Regions from separate parts of the Homo sapiens genome. Here regions 2 and 3 are each linked to region 1. Evidence: promoter capture Hi-C in human tissues and cell types (Jung and others, 2019). All regions are on one chromosome and are shown on one strand. Each heading gives the region's core, a stretch centred on a gene start or on the middle of the fragment in contact. The rest is flanking DNA. Distances are from core to core; before and after follow the strand shown. Region 1 holds the start of ANKRD61 (ankyrin repeat domain 61). Region 2 overlaps CYTH3 (cytohesin 3). Region 3 overlaps OCM (oncomodulin).

Region 1 (5,030 bases), core at 693-3,192:
AGTGAACCAAGATTGTGGCATTGCACTCCAGCCTGGGCAACAAGAGCAAAACCCTGTCTCAAAAAAAAAAAAACCTCAACATTCAACCATTCCCCAGGCCAGCTGCATCAGAACTCCTGCGGGTGAACGCAAGCATCAGTATTATTAAAAGTCCCAAGGCTATTCTAAATTTGGAGAATATTAATGTAGAGCATGCTTTGTACACAAGTGCTTCCCAACCCTTACTGCACATCATTACCCAAGAAGCTCTTAGAAATGACTGTCCTCGGCCGGGCACGGTGGCTCACACCTGTAATCTCAGCACTTTAGGAGGCTGAGGCGGGCAAATCGCCTGAGGTCAGGAGTTCAAGACCAGGCTGGCCAACATGGTGAAACCCCATCTCTACTAAAAATACAAAAATTAGCCAGGTGTGGTGGTGCATGCCTGTAATCCCAGCTACTCGGGAGGCTGAGGCAGAATTGCTTGAACCTGGGAGGCAGAGGTTGCAGTGAGACGAGATCGCATCACTGCACTCCAGCCTGGGAAACAGAGTGAGACTCTGTCTCAAAAAAAAGAAAAGAAAAGAAACGACTGTCCTGTCGAGTCCAGAGACGTGATTTTCTATGTGTGAGAAAACATTTTAAATGGCTTTTTCAAGGCATGATAAATCTAAGCACCGGCAGCCAGCCTGCAAATGTAACAAACCACATGGCTCATCCACCTGGAAGATCACAATAAGTGAACAGGATGTAGAGGAGTCAGCCCATAAAAGGGAAGAAAGTTTCATTACTGGGAAATCCAAACTTAAGCGGGAAAGGGACCAGGGTATAACCTTCTAAGGGGATAATGCAACTTAGGCGACGTCCGGGAAGATCGTAACCCTGTAGTCCTTGACCAGTGAGGAACTGAGGTAGGGTCTTGCATGCTAGGAGATAAATCACCTGTTGTAACTGCCCTGGGTGTACCTGCCTACCAGACACGTGACCTTGCAAGAGGGCTATTAAAAGTCTCACTTTCACTGTTCTTTGTGCCTCTAAGTTCACTCTTTGGGTTTGGACGGGTGAGCATGTTTCTCGCACTACGAAAAAACTGATTTTTTTCTTTAAGACAGAGTCTTGCTGTGTCGCCAGGCTGGAGTGCAGTGGTGCCATCTCGGCTCACTGTAACCTCCACCTCTCAGGTTCAAACAATTCTCCTGCCTCAACCTCCTGAGTAGCTGGGACTACAGGCGCACGCCACCACAGCCAGCTACTTTTTGTATTTTTAGTAGCGACAGGGTTTCACCATGTTGGCCAGTATGGTCTTGATCTCTTGACCTCATGTTCTGCCCGCCCTGGCCTCTCAAAGTGCTGGGATTACAGGCATGAGCGACCGCACCCAGCCAACTTTGATATTTTTTAAAAGCTCCCAGATAACTCATATGTATTAGCCAGGGTTGGGAACTAATAGATCACACTAAATGGCTTTATTTAAGCAAAGAGTACAGACCCAAAACATCTCCCAAACTATTCCTATGCCGGAGAAAAACTGAACCCATAATGGGGAGAGGGAAGATTCTATTATAATAAAAACTAAAAAATAACTTAAGGTTAAAAGTTTTCTTACTTTAAAAGTAATAATTTTAACTTTGTATTTTAATGTATAAATTCCTCTGTTTTAGCTTTGATCATTGTTTCAGCTACACTTGAACTGGAGAGAAATCAGAAATAAAGGTGTAAGATGATAGCTTGAATATGTTTTTATGATAGAGTAGAAAACCCTAAAAACTGCTGACATTTGACATTCTATGATCAAGGAACAAAGTCTGGACGCTTGGTTCCAAACTGATGGATTGCCTTCACAGATCCAATTCTCGACAAATTCTAGAACAGTTCTAGAACTGAACTGAAAGAATCATCACAAAGAGACTGAAACTGACCAATTCCATAACAACATTTTCCCCTGAAGTCTTAAGTTTTTCTCATGGGGAATATAACCAGGAAAGGAAGCAGAGACCTGGTGGTTGACAGTGCCAAGTCCCTGGAAGATGGCCCATCTGCAGCACTTCACTCGAAACTCTATGAAGCCATCATGAGAGAAGACTGCACTACGATCGAGGTACTCCTGAGAAATCACCCTGTCAACCAGCCCATCACCATTCTGCCCAACTCCGCCAGCAACAGATTACTTCTGACCCAGGTACCCTCTTTTCTGCTCAGTCACTTCTGGAAAAAAGTCAGGCTGCTTAGAAAGAAGCATGATCTAAAGCTGGTGAACCCACTAAGCTCACGGCCCTTATGAGAATGAGACACGACTCCAGCTCACTCCACACACACTGCAGTGCTCCCCAAAGCCTGCAAAGCCTCCCCTACACATGTCACACACAAACCAACATGAGAAAACACCAGACCCTGTGTGACTGGAAGACCATTCATGTCATCTCTCAAACATACCCACAGTGATGATCTCCATGTGGTCAAATTAGTTTTTCCCTTTTTTGGCCAGACGCAGTAGCTCATGCCTGTAATCCCAGCACTTTGGAAGGCTGAGGTGGGTGGATCACCTGAGGTCAGGAGTTCGAGACCAGCCTGGCCAGCAGGGCAAAACCCCGTCTCTACTAAAAATACAAAAATTAGCCGGGCTTGGTGGCAGGAGCCTGTAATCTCAGCTACTCGGACGGCTGAGGCAGGAGAATTGCTTGAACCCAGGAGGCAGAGGTTGCAGTGAGCCAAGATCGTACCACTGCACTCTCTAGCCTGGATGACAGAGCAAGACTCCATCTCAAACAAACAAACAAAAAATAGTTTTTCCCTTTTTAATATATACATTTTCATTTTCTAAATTTTTATACAATGATTATTACTTTTACAATTAAATTCAAAAAGGAAGTCACCCTCCCTTGTACCCTACTGTCTTATCTTGCAGCCACGGTGTGAAACCACTACTTACACGTGTGTATTTTAAGAGCTGGCACAAACAGCTCTGCTAATCATAGACAGAACATATGCTGCGTTATATTTGAAAACCCTGAAGATTCAGGTTTTACTGCTGATAATACGACTTTGGCAACGACACAGCACCTACTTGTCCATCACCCTGTGGGTTAATTTAAGGAATAAGTGACTTCATAGCAAGTACCCTTAATATCACACCACAGGCTCTTCTGAAGAATCAACTTTCAAAAATTTCCAAAGCTTTTGAGTGTTATTTCTGTTGCCTCAGTAAATGTGCATTTCTGTGAAACACAGATTTTATAGGATGGAATTCACTGAATTTTGATCATTTAAAACAGGTAGTAGAAAGGAAACTTTCAATGCACATACCAGAAAAAGAGTGAGCCAATGAGACACTAAATAAATGTATTGCCTTTGAAACGGCAAGCTAACACAAACAGTATTTTTAACTACACAGGGCCACTTGTAATGTGTTTTGTTTTCCCTCCAAAGCCGACAGAGTCTATCATCCCCATCCATCTGGCTGCCAAGTACCACAAGGCCCAGAGTCTGCTCTGCCTGTTACGGCACGGTGCTGACCCAGAAGTCAGGTAAGTTAACTCCACCGAAAATCATTTCTTTTTTTTTCTTTTTTGTTTTGAGGCAGGGGTCTCGCTCTGTTGCCCAGGCTGGAGTGCAATGGCACAATCTCGCCTCACTGCAACCTCTACTTCCTGGGTTCAAGAGCTTCTCCCACCTCAGCCTCCCGAGTAGCTGGGATTACAGGTGTGCGTCACCATGCCCAGCTAACATTTGTATTTTTAGTAGAGACAGGGTTTCACCATGTTGGCCAGGCTGGTCTTGAACTCCTGGCCTCAAGTGATCCACCTGCCTCGGCCTCCCAAAGTGCTGGGATTAACAGCCCTCAGCCACAGCACCCAGCTTCACTGACAATCATTTCTAAGTGAGGATATACCTGATATAGATTTTTTTTTCAGTTCATACATTTTTTCCACTTATGTTTGGACTTGTTCGTTCTTATGAATGAACCAATGTCTTTACTGAGTAGATGAGATACTCTGAAAAACTGAGAAAAATGCAACATCATAAATATTTTGCCAAATTAATGCACATTCTGAGGATTAAGAGCTCAATGGTGGTGTTGTGAGGAATGCAGTAAAGTCCTTGCCATGGCCTTCAATAAGTTTAACCACCAAAGTTAGGTGTGAAAAATAAAATATAGGTAGACAATGGATTTTCTTTATTTTTGGTTTTTGTTTTTTGAGACAGAGTCTCGCTCTGTCGCCCAGGCTGGAGTGCAGTGGCACCATTCTCCTGGGTTCACGCCATTCTCCTGCCTCAGCCTCCCAAGTAGCTGGGACTACAGGCGCCTGCCACCACGCCTGGCTAATTTTTTGTATTTTTAGTAGAGATGGGGTTTCACCATGTTAGCCAGGATAGTCTCAATCTCCTGACCTCGTGATCCGTCCACCTCAGCCTCCCAAAGTGCTGGGATTACAGGCGTGAGCCGCCGTGCCTGGCCGACAATGGATTTTCTTGTTTATTACTCTCCACTAGAAGGTAAGCCGCATGAAAGAGAAGTTGACCTTGTGCACCACTGTATCTCCAGCACCTCAACCAAATCAATGCCTGACACTTAGCACGTGCTCAGTAATACTATCCGAGTGAATGAAAGAATTAAGTAGTATAGGCCGGGCGCGGTGGCTCACGCCTGTAATCCCAGCACCATGGGAGGCTGAGGTGGGTGGATCATGAGGTCAGGAGTTCGAGACCAGCCTGGTGAAACCTCATCTCTACTAAAAATACAAAAACTAGCCAGGCGTGGTGGCGGGCGCCTGTAGTCCCAGCTACTCGGGAGGCTGAGGCAGGAGAATCGCTTGAACCCGTGAGGCAGCAGTTGCAGTGAGCCAAAATCACGCCACCACACTCCAGCCTGGGCGACAGAGCAAGACTCCATCTCAAAATAATAATAATAATAGAACTTCTTGCCCCAAATCCTTACCATGCTCCAGAAGAACCCACCTGACCTGTCTTGCTCCCAGCCTCTCCCTGAGCACCCCACCCCAGCTCTGCAAGTCCTCTGGAAGTCCCTTCCACATCTCAACCATCACAGACTC
Region 2 (5,030 bases), core at 1,456-3,955, 170 kb after region 1:
GACACATTTTATATACATGTATATGCAAACATATGAGATCTTCCACGGAGTTCACTCGCAGTCCTATGACTTCTCCTGGAGAAAGATGGAGTTTCACAGTTATGAACTGTGGCCAGAACCCTCACTATGTTTTAGTCACTGTAAGTCAAATGTGATAATACGTACCCTGAACAAAAATTTGGTCATTTAACTCACAACTGTGTATTTCTGGCTACCTAGTCCTAATTGAAATTGATTCTCTTACCCTTAAGTTTACCTTTATTACTAATCAATACTAATTTTTGTTGTGATATGGAGCTTTTTAGATTTTTGGTCAGTTCAGAGACTGGCCGATTCTGCAGGAAACAGAACACTGGCAAAGCATGGGCTTTGAGCACTAGTCCCAGTTAATCCACTACATGGAAACTCTACATGGAGCCGTGGTTTAACACACACAGAAATAACACCTATCTCATAACACTGTTATATCCAGCAATTTAAACTGGTTATTTTGAGAAAGGATCTTGCTCTGTCACTCAGTCTGGACTGCAATGGCACAATCACAGCTCACTGCAGCCTCAGCGTCCCAAACTCAGGTGATCCTCCCGCCTCAGCCTCCTGAATAGCTGGGACCACAGGCACGTACCACCATGCCCAGCTAACTTTCAAATTGTTTTTGTAGAGACAGGGTCTCACTATGTTGTTGTCCAGGCTAGTCTCAAACTCCTGGGCTCAAGTAATCCTCTACTTCGGCCTCCCAAAGTGCTGGGATTGTAGGTATGAGCCACCTTGCCTGGCTCAACTGTTAAATGAGCATGAGTTTCTGGAGACTACTGAAGCAGTATGATGACACGCAGAACAAAAGGGCAGGCTCTGAGCTGCCAGGGGCTGCGCTCTGCCTCTCCTCACCACTCGACAGTCGGGTGACCTCAGTGGGTGATAAAGCAGCATTCAAACTATGACATCCAGGTGGGTAACAGGGCAGTCACGTGTTAGCAACAACGGAAAGGGCCAGGTGAGTGGCATGCCGCAGCTAGCCAGGATGCTGCACTGAGCTGCAGGGGCAGGCAGGAAAGCCGCAGAGGCTCCAAGGGTCCGATTCTCGCCACCTCCTTGGAACCTTCTTTCTTGTCATTTCTCCTCAATCTCCATGTGGTGATCTTCACTGTTCCAGGACACTGGTTCCTTACCCAGCCTTCTTTGGATTAGGTGAAAGGTGACATTTTCAGACACAAACTGGAGTTGGCCACTGGTGCACCATTATCACTAACAGAAATTCTTAAATAAGTTCAATCAAGAGAAGGGATCCAGTACAGGAGGTGTGAGCATCAAGAGAAAATGATGAGCACTGGTTTCCATAAGTAAATCTTAAAAAAACCTGACTGTGTAAGATAACAACATCTCATAGAGTAAGAACAGAACTAAAATGCTCAACAACAACAGCATGTAAATAAGAAGGGAAGTAATTTGCTCTCAAGTTCTTAGGGTTCGAAGGCGGAGCGGATAGATGATTAACTTTAGACTTGTCAAGTTAAGAAGGCATACTAAAATTTCTAGGGTAAGCAGGAAAGGAATGGAGCTCAAAATGCCCAAATTGGGAAAGGGAAATTAAAACTGGAATGAGAAAAAATAATCCAAAAAAAGGCAAGGAAAGAGAAAGAGAAACACAGAACAACTGTTAGAAATACAAAATGCAAAATATTGGGTGCAGGAAAAAAAATCCAAATATACTGATCTTTACCATGGTAGACAGAAAAACACAGCCATGGTATTTTGAGGTTCCTCCTCTCAAGAAGGGAAGTCTATTTCCCAGTGTTTTCTCTGGACTGGCTTTGGGACTTCCTTTGACCAAGAGAAGATGGCAGATTTGACAGTGGGCAGGGCCCAGCACCCAGGCCTCAAGGTCTTGTCCCTCCCCTGTCCTGGAACCTGAGACCACCATGCCCTGGGCCAGCAACCTTGAAAATGAAATCCATTGTGTAAAGAAACCACACGGAAGAGTCCCTGAGGTCCCAGCTGCTGCAGCACCTCAGCCAAGGCCCCAGACGAACGCGTAAGTGAAGTCATCTGGGACGGGCTCAGCCCCCGGCTGGCCTTCCAGCTGAATATGACAACGTGGGTGAACCCAGACAAGAGCAGCACGTGAACCGCCAGCCAACTTGGAAATTTGGATGGTGAGACAACAGGCCATTGCTAGTTTTTTTTTTTTTTTTTTTTTTGAGACAGGGTTTCGCTCTTGTTGCCCAGGCTGGAGTGCAGTGGTGCGAATCTCAGCTCACCGCAACCTCCGCCTCCTGGGTTCAATCGATTCTCCTGCCTCAGCCTCCTGAGTGGCTGGGATTACAGGCATGCGCCGCCACGCCCAACTAATTTTGTTTTTTTAGTAGAAAAGGGGTTTCTCCATGTTAGGCTCATCTCAAACTCCCGACCTGAGGTGATCCGCCCGCCTTGGCCTCCCAAAGTGCTGGGATTACAGGCGTGAGCCACCGTGCCCAGCCAGGCCATTGCTGTTTTAAACCAATTCCTTTGAAGAAGTTTGTTATGCAGTAAGAAGTAACTGATACATTTACAATGAACATAAGTGAAAAAAAGGAGTAAAGTTTTAAAACTTGGACTTAAAAACCAGAACAAAAAACATCCCACTAAATGCTCTTTAAAAGAGGCATATTTAAAACATACGAATACATAAAAGTTGGTAAAAGGGTAGAAAGTGACATACCAGACAAATTCTTACCAAAAAGTTGGTACCGCTATAAGAAAAAATAGGCAAAAAAACTTTAAGAAAAATAGACTAAAGCTATGAGTCACTAGATAATGATATTTTGTTCAGTTATTCACAAAGTCAGAATTTATATGCATCTAACAAAATAGTCTCAAAATATATAAAGCAAAAATTGACAGATGTACATGTAAAAATAAAATTTTTCCCAAAGGCAAAAAAAAAAAAATGTTGAAGATCTTACCAACACAATAGCAAGCTTGATTTAATGGACATAATATACTTCACTGATTATAAGATGTGCTTTTTTTTCACATTTTAACATATTTGAAGTGAATTGTGACATTTACATATCATTGCCTCCATAGCTGTGAATCTGACTATTGCTAGAGGCAAAACTAAACAACTGCTACTCCTTAACGTTTCATGCAAAAAAACAAAATTTAAGAATAATCTGATGAAGGATTATGAGTCTAGTCATTGCCACAGATTATTCATTGATACTTTCTGGTAAGATCAACAAAGTCTCAGCAGAAAATTCTGCAAAACATTAGAAAAAAATCCGGGAGACAATATAGGAGCACTCTTTAAGAACTGCTGTGTCACTAATGCCTTCGATGGTGACAGCACTGTGTAGAAAAACATAAATATCAACTATTCTGAGTAGACAACTGATTCAGGAGTTGGAATCTGTAAATAAGCTTCAGGAATACCTTGACCAACTTACTGTACTCATATTCCACCTTTTTTTTTTTTGGAGACAGAGTCTCGCTCTGTCGCCCAGGCTGGAATGCAATGGCCCAATCTCGGCTCACTGCAAGCTCCGCCTCCTGGGTTCACACCATTCTCCTGTCTCAGCCTCCCGAGTAGCTGGGACTACAGGCGCCTGCCACCATGCCCGGCTAATTTTTTTATTTTTAGTAGAGACAGGGTTTCACTGTGTTAGCCAGGATGGTCTTGATCTCCTGACCTCGTGATCCACCCGCCTCAGCCTCCCAAAGTGCTGGGATTACAGGCGTTAGCCACCGCACTCAGCTTCATATTTCACTTTTTATATATGTTCACAATAGAAAAAAAAAAAAGAAACCAATATTAAGTTGAAAAAAAATCAGACAGTATAAATAAAGATTCTAAGTGAGAAGGATTCATTGCCCCTGGTTTAGGTGCCAGCTTTTTTCTTCTTAATGGAACATAAGCTAACGACGCATCTTACAATTGATACAGACAAACTCAGTGGGATCATGGCACCCAACAGGTGTGCAATATACATTCAAGCACATGTGAAAAAAGAAAATAAATTTCAAAGGATTGGTGTAGTGGAGATGAAGGTGCTTTGCTCAATCTCTGGAGGTGCCTTCAAGTAAAGCAGAGTTTAGAAAGCTCAAAATTACATCTCCAGATCCTCTTATTCTGCCAAACAGAGGCAGTGTACAGGATTCAAAAGAGAGCAGTGAAGCAGAAGTCCTCGTCCTGCCCTTTTACACAGGCTGCTGCTCAGCTGGCCCACAAAGATGTGAAAGGTGAGGATTTTCTGCAACAGCTTTCTATCTAGTGTTCGTTCTCTAGATTCCTAGGAATTGAGAGTTCATTCCAGCACTGTGGCCTCCTGATTCAGGTTCTGTGGACCCCATCACGGCTGAGGATATGCACGGACCTCCATGGTTGCAGGAGTTGCCTAGCAGGCGAGAATTCCTCTGGTGACTCGATTTTGGAGAGCCAAGCCAGGGCCCACTCCTTTAGCCAACCCATGGCTCCCCAATCAAATCATTCCTTCCTGCTCAAAATACTTAGAGTGCTCTATGTTTCCTGTATCGAACTATAACAAACTACTGTTGTCATAAAGACCACATTCTCTGAACACAAAACAATCAAGTTAAAAATCAATTGCAAAACAGTGACTAGAGGATGAGTGCGGTGGCTCACGCCTGTAATTCCAGAGCTTTGGGAGGCTGAGGTGGGTGGATCACTTGAGCCCAGGAGTTCAAGGCCAGTTTGGGCAACATGGCGAAGACCCTGTCTCTATTAAAAATACAAAAATTAGCCAGGTATGGTGGTGCACACCTGTAGTCCCAGCTACTTGGGGGCTGAGGTAGGAGAATCACCTGAGCCTGGACGGCCAAGGCTGCAGTGAGCCATGATCATGCCACTGCACTCCAGCCTGGGTGACAAAGCAATACTCTCTCAAAAAAGCAAAAACAAAAAACAGTGACCAGGAAAACCCATTTGTTTGGAAATTAAATTAAGAAACACAATTCTAAATAAATCATTGGTCAAAGATAACAACGTAATGTAAATTAGAAAATACCAACAAAGGCCAGGCACGGTGGCTCAC
Region 3 (5,030 bases), core at 1,512-4,011, 140 kb before region 1:
ATGCTTAGAGGAAAAACAAAAGTGTAAACACAGAGATGCATGATCTTTTTGAAAATCCCCATGGATCTTTATTATCCTGTAGGTTTTTCCTCCAGAAGTTTGAGAGTGGTGCCAGAGAACTGACCGAGTCAGAAACCAAGTCCTTGATGGCTGCGGCGGATAATGATGGAGATGGGAAAATTGGAGCAGAGGGTATGTCCACACGTGTACGTAGCATAAAACACTCTAGCTCAGGAAGCATCCGTGAGGGCTTGGGCTGTGAGATCAAACCAATGTGGCTTAAAATCTCCCTTTCTTAAACTTACCGAGCCTCAGTCTTCTCATCTGTAAAATGGGACTAAAGTAAGGATGCAAATGATGTGTGTAAAAACCCTGGCATAATGCTCGGTAGGTACTATAGAAGCTGGTCACACTGGTCATTGTCTATGAGCTGCAAAATATCCTTCACCTGACTAGGGGACTAGCTAGCCACCTGGCCAATTATTTGCACCTGCCAACCATAATGCACCTGCATAAAGCGCGAGGTATTTCTACCAGTGGGGTTTGAACCCCTCAGAATAAGGGAAAGATTTACATCCTCAGACCAGGGTCCATTGGCATGCGTAGGAAGCCCTCTTCGTCTTCAAGGGTTTAGACAAATATATTTTATTGGACATTAGCCCGCCAAGGGGATAATATTAAACAGAGAACAAATAAGCCAACCTCATTTATTGAGTCTTCCATAGGCCGAATCCTAGGTTTGAGCTTTAGAATACACTAGCACAGCTGTAGGACTATTTTCACTTGATTTTGTCATGTTGCTAGCGTGCTTTTTAACTGCTTTGTGCCTGCCAACTCAGCAGAACATATGATGGTCCTTCTGGTGGTGCTAATTTGAAATTTAAAACTGCTACGTTAGATGCTTATTAAAAAAAAAAAAACCTGTTCAAAATTATACCACTATCGCTTACTACATGGGAGTTAATGCAGATAGATAGCTCATAAAAACAGATTAGGTAAGGGGGGATTGCCTTATTTAAACATAACCAGGGGCTGGGCGTGGTGGCTCAGGCCTATAATCCCAGCAATTTTGGAGGCCAAGGTGGGCAGATCCCCTGAAGTCGGGAGTTCAAGACTAGACTGACCAACATGGTGAACCCCATCTCTATTGAAAATATAAAAAATTAGCCGGTCATGGTGGTGGGCACCTGTAATCCCAACTACTCGGGAAGCTGAGGCAGGAGAATCGCTTGAACCTGGGAGGCAGAGGTTGCAGGGAGCCAAGATGGCACCATTGCACTCCAGCCTGGGCAACAAGAGTGAAACTCTATCTCAAAAGAAAAAAAAAAACATAACCATGAAGGATTTCCAAATAAACAAAGCTTACCAATAAATATAAAGCAAGTCCCCAGTTTTTTATATCAATCTGTAACATCCATACCTTGTTATTATTACTATTATCCTTCTTTTAGTAACAGAAACGTTTGGAGTTTGGTTCAATGGAGGAAAGTCAGTTCAAAGTCCCACCCTATCAAATATATCCTAAAAATGCAATACCCAGCTACGGAATAGAGAAAGAAAATCTCCCCTTCCTGTCTGAAATTGACCAGACAAAAAGTTAAATGTTCACAGATGGTCACAGGTAATTCCACTGAATTCATGCATTATCAGGGAGAAATGATAGGCTTGACAAGTTCTAATTCAAAGACCTCTATTGCAAAGCTGAAGATGTTTGTTAAATAAGATTATTCAGAGAAATGGAACCCTGTGAACTTCCTCGAGATATAGTCATTGATACCCAGGGTTTTTTTTTCTTTCTTTCTTTCCTTTTTTTTTTTTTTTGAGTTGGAGTCTGGCTCTCTCGCCCAGGCTAGAGTGCAATGGCGTGATTTCGGCTCACTGCAACCTCCGCCTCCCAGGTTCAAGTGATTCTCCTGCCTCAGCCTCCCAAGTAGCTGGGACTACAGGCACGTGCCACAACGCTGAGCTAAGTTTTGTATTTTTAGTAGAGACAGGGTTTCACCATTTTGGCCAGGATGGTTTCGATCTCATGATGTCATGATCCACCCGCCTCGGCCTCCCAAAGTGCTGGGATTACAGGCATGAGCCACTGTGCCCGGCCAGTTTTTCTTTCTTTTGTGCCCTCCAAGGGGGCCATGCCCATCATCTGACAATTTTCTTTGCTTCCTTCCCTCTTTGGAATTCTCATTGGCCACGGCACGTCTGTAAAGAACCAAGCCACCTCCACTGACCCTGTTCTCACCTCTTCTGTTCTAGAATTCCAGGAAATGGTGCATTCTTAAAAGCCCCAGTCTCTGGAGAAAAGAGAGAAAGGGATAATCACCTGGAAGGATTCCAAAGCCCTGGGAATGGGGAACCCCACATCCCATCCCTACCTAATTTGTTAATTTTCCCTGAAAACCTTCTGCAGTTTGCTCATTGTTTTAGTGAGGTCACGAGGGAGTCACTCCTGACTTTCTTGGTGGTGGGTATATGCCCTGACAACTTCTGTAAGCCCCCCTTCCCCCAACAGGCAATGCCTCTAAAAATCACCCAATAAAGACAGGCTTCTCATCATCTGCTGATGTGTGGGCGTGTTTTTTCCTCAGCACGACACTCAAGCAAACTGGGACCAAGGGCTTTTTTGTAGGATTTCTGGTCCCATCAAGCTTGGAGCGGGCCACACTGGTGTTATGGTCCAGCAAACAAGGAAATCAGGTTTTGGAGGGTGTTTTTGGTTGTTTCTTTAGAGTCACAAATAAATGCCATTGTCAAGCTATTATTTTTCTCAGCAAATCTTGTGACACTGAAATTAATAGGAAGGGATTTTAGCCAGCATAAAATCACTCTTTTTTTTTTTTTTTTTTTTTTGAGACAGAGTCTCACTCTGTCACCCAGGCTGGAGTGCAGTGGCTCAATCTTGGCTCACTGCAACCTCTGCCTTCCAAGTTCAAGCTATTGTCCCACCTCAGCCTCCCAAGTAGCTGGGATTACAGGTGCACACCACCACACCCGGCTAATTTTTGTATTTTTAGCAGAGTTGGAGTTTCACCATGTTGGCCAGGCTGGTCTCAAACTCCTGACCTCAAGTGATGCGCCCACCTTGGCCTCCCAAAGTTCTGGGATTACAGGCGTGAGCCACTGTGCCCAGCCAGTCACTCTTACCGGTATGTTTTCTGCCATGTGTTAGAAAGCCACTTTGATTTAATTAAAAGCAAAAGGTACAAGACAAAACAGAATACGTGTCTGTAGTGGTCTGTAAAGCTCAGGAGAGACTTGCGATTCCAGGTTAGTACAAACGGACCCATTTCCTCTTTATTATTTATTTATTTTGAGACAAGGTCCAGCTCTGTCGCCCAGGCTGGAGTGCAGTGGCACGATCTCAGCTCACTGCAACCTCTGCCTCCTGGACTCAAACCATCCTCCCACCTCAGCTTCCTGAGTAGCTGGGACTACAGGCATGCACCACCACACCCGGCTAACGTTTGTGTTTTTGGTAGAGGTGAGGTCTCACTGTGTTATTTAGGCTGATCTCGAACTCCTGGGCGCAAGCGATCCTCCCACTCAGCCTCCCAAAGTGTTGCGATAACAGGCGTGAGCCACCGCACCCGGCCTTACTTTTTATTGTTTATTTATTAGAGATGGTGGGGGAGGGTCTCACTATGTTGCTCAGGCTGATCTCGAACTCTTGGGCTCAAGCCATCCTCCCACCTCAGCCTCCCAAAGTGTTGGGATAACAGGCATGAGCCACTGCGCCCGGCCTTACTTTTTATTGTTTATTTATTAGAGATGGTGGGGGAGGGTCTCGCTCTATTGCCCAGGCTGGTTTGGAACTGCTGGTCTCAAGCCATTATCCCACTTCAGCCTCCCAAAGTGCTGGGATTGCAGGTGTGAGCCAGCACAGATCCATTTTCAAGTCCTTTTTCTCCTTTTCATTTTGAGACAGTCTCACTCTGTCACCCAGGCTGGAGTGAGGTGGCATGATCTCGGCTCACTGCAACCCCCGCCTCCCAGGTTCAAGCAATTCTCCTGTCTCAGCCTCCTGAGTAGCTGGGATTACAGGTGCCCACCACCACGTGCAGCTAATTTTGTATTTCTAAAGACAGGGTTTCACCTTGTTGGCCAGGCTGGTCTCGAACTCCTGATCTCAGGTGATCCGCCCGCCTAGGCCTCCCAAAGGATTCCAAGCCACAATTAGGCATAAGACACCATACCTGGCCATCTTCTTCTTCTCTGAGAAACAAGCTATCAAAAAAAAAAAAAAAAAAAAGAGAGAGAGAGAAACGAGCCCTCAGAGAGGCTCACCTGCTGTCACCCAGTCCTCTGACACCTCCCGCTTCTCTTTCTCAGCCACTGGCTTCCTGGCTCTAAGGCGATTCACCTAAGCCCAATACACCTAGCCTTGCCTTCGGTTTGAGGTGAGCCTCCGGGGTTCTGTTACAGGGCTGTCATTAGGGCTGGGCAGTCTTAAGCCAGGAAATTCTCACCAGGCTGGTTTCCAGGTGGCACATTAAAGCTCTTCTCTTGGGCTAACCCTGTGAGTTGAGGACTCCTGGGAACAATTGAGGCATTTTCTGGAGAGCTTGTGTAAAAGCTCACACTTTTTACTAAACCCTCCAGCTCACAAGAGGCCTTGGGGCTCTTCCAGATTGCTTCGGGCACACTAACCAGCTTAGTGGCTTTTGAGCCTTTGTTTTCCAGAGGGTCATGTTAAATGTGGTTCCTCAAAGTATGGGGCACATACTAGCAGGGGGCCTCAAGATGACTTAGGGTGACAGGCACAAACTTTTTTTTTAACAGTATCACTCTCAGCATAGTGACTTTTTTTGTTTTTGTTTGTTTTTTGAGACAGTCTCACTCTGTCGCCCAGGCTGGAGTGCAGCAGCTCGTTGCAACCTCTGCCTCCCAGGTTCAAGTGATTCTACTGCCTCAGCCTCCTGAGTAGCTGGGATTACAGGCATGCACCACCACACCCAGCTAAGTTTTGTATTTTTAGTAGAGACGGGGTTTCACCATGTTGGCCAGGCTGGTCTCGAACTCCTGACCTCTGG

What was found. Contacts are between HindIII fragments. The study calls those that stand out against the background at their distance.
Region 2: a contact is called between a fragment that was not itself captured here and the fragment with the promoter of ANKRD61 in region 1, in 2 of the 25 tissues and cell types used here (dorsolateral prefrontal cortex and mesenchymal stem cells).
Region 3: a contact is called between a fragment that was not itself captured here and the fragment with the promoter of ANKRD61 in region 1, in 2 of the 25 tissues and cell types used here (liver and mesenchymal stem cells).

Annotation. Positions count from the first base shown.
Region 1 is chr7:6,029,434-6,034,463 of GRCh38, forward strand. ANKRD61 (ankyrin repeat domain 61) reads left to right here and starts at 1,943. Exons shown (of 3, transcript NM_001271700.2): 1 at 1,943-2,158; 2 at 3,406-3,503. The coding sequence starts at 1,943. The region is part of intron 11 of EIF2AK1 (eukaryotic translation initiation factor 2 alpha kinase 1); the gene reads right to left. The HindIII fragment of the contact is 7,395 bases long and covers 1-4,784 here.
Region 2 is chr7:6,200,282-6,205,311 of GRCh38, forward strand. The region is part of intron 1 of CYTH3 (cytohesin 3); the gene reads right to left. Among named protein-coding and RNA genes, the nearest start is that of CYTH3, 70 kb to the right of the region's middle. The HindIII fragment of the contact is 3,612 bases long and covers 900-4,511 here.
Region 3 is chr7:5,883,808-5,888,837 of GRCh38, forward strand. OCM (oncomodulin) reads left to right here. Exons shown (of 4, transcript NM_001097622.2): 3 at 83-192; 4 at 2,257-2,556. The coding sequence ends at 2,282. Among named protein-coding and RNA genes, the nearest start is that of OCM, 5.5 kb to the left of the region's middle. The HindIII fragment of the contact is 5,338 bases long and covers 93-5,030 here.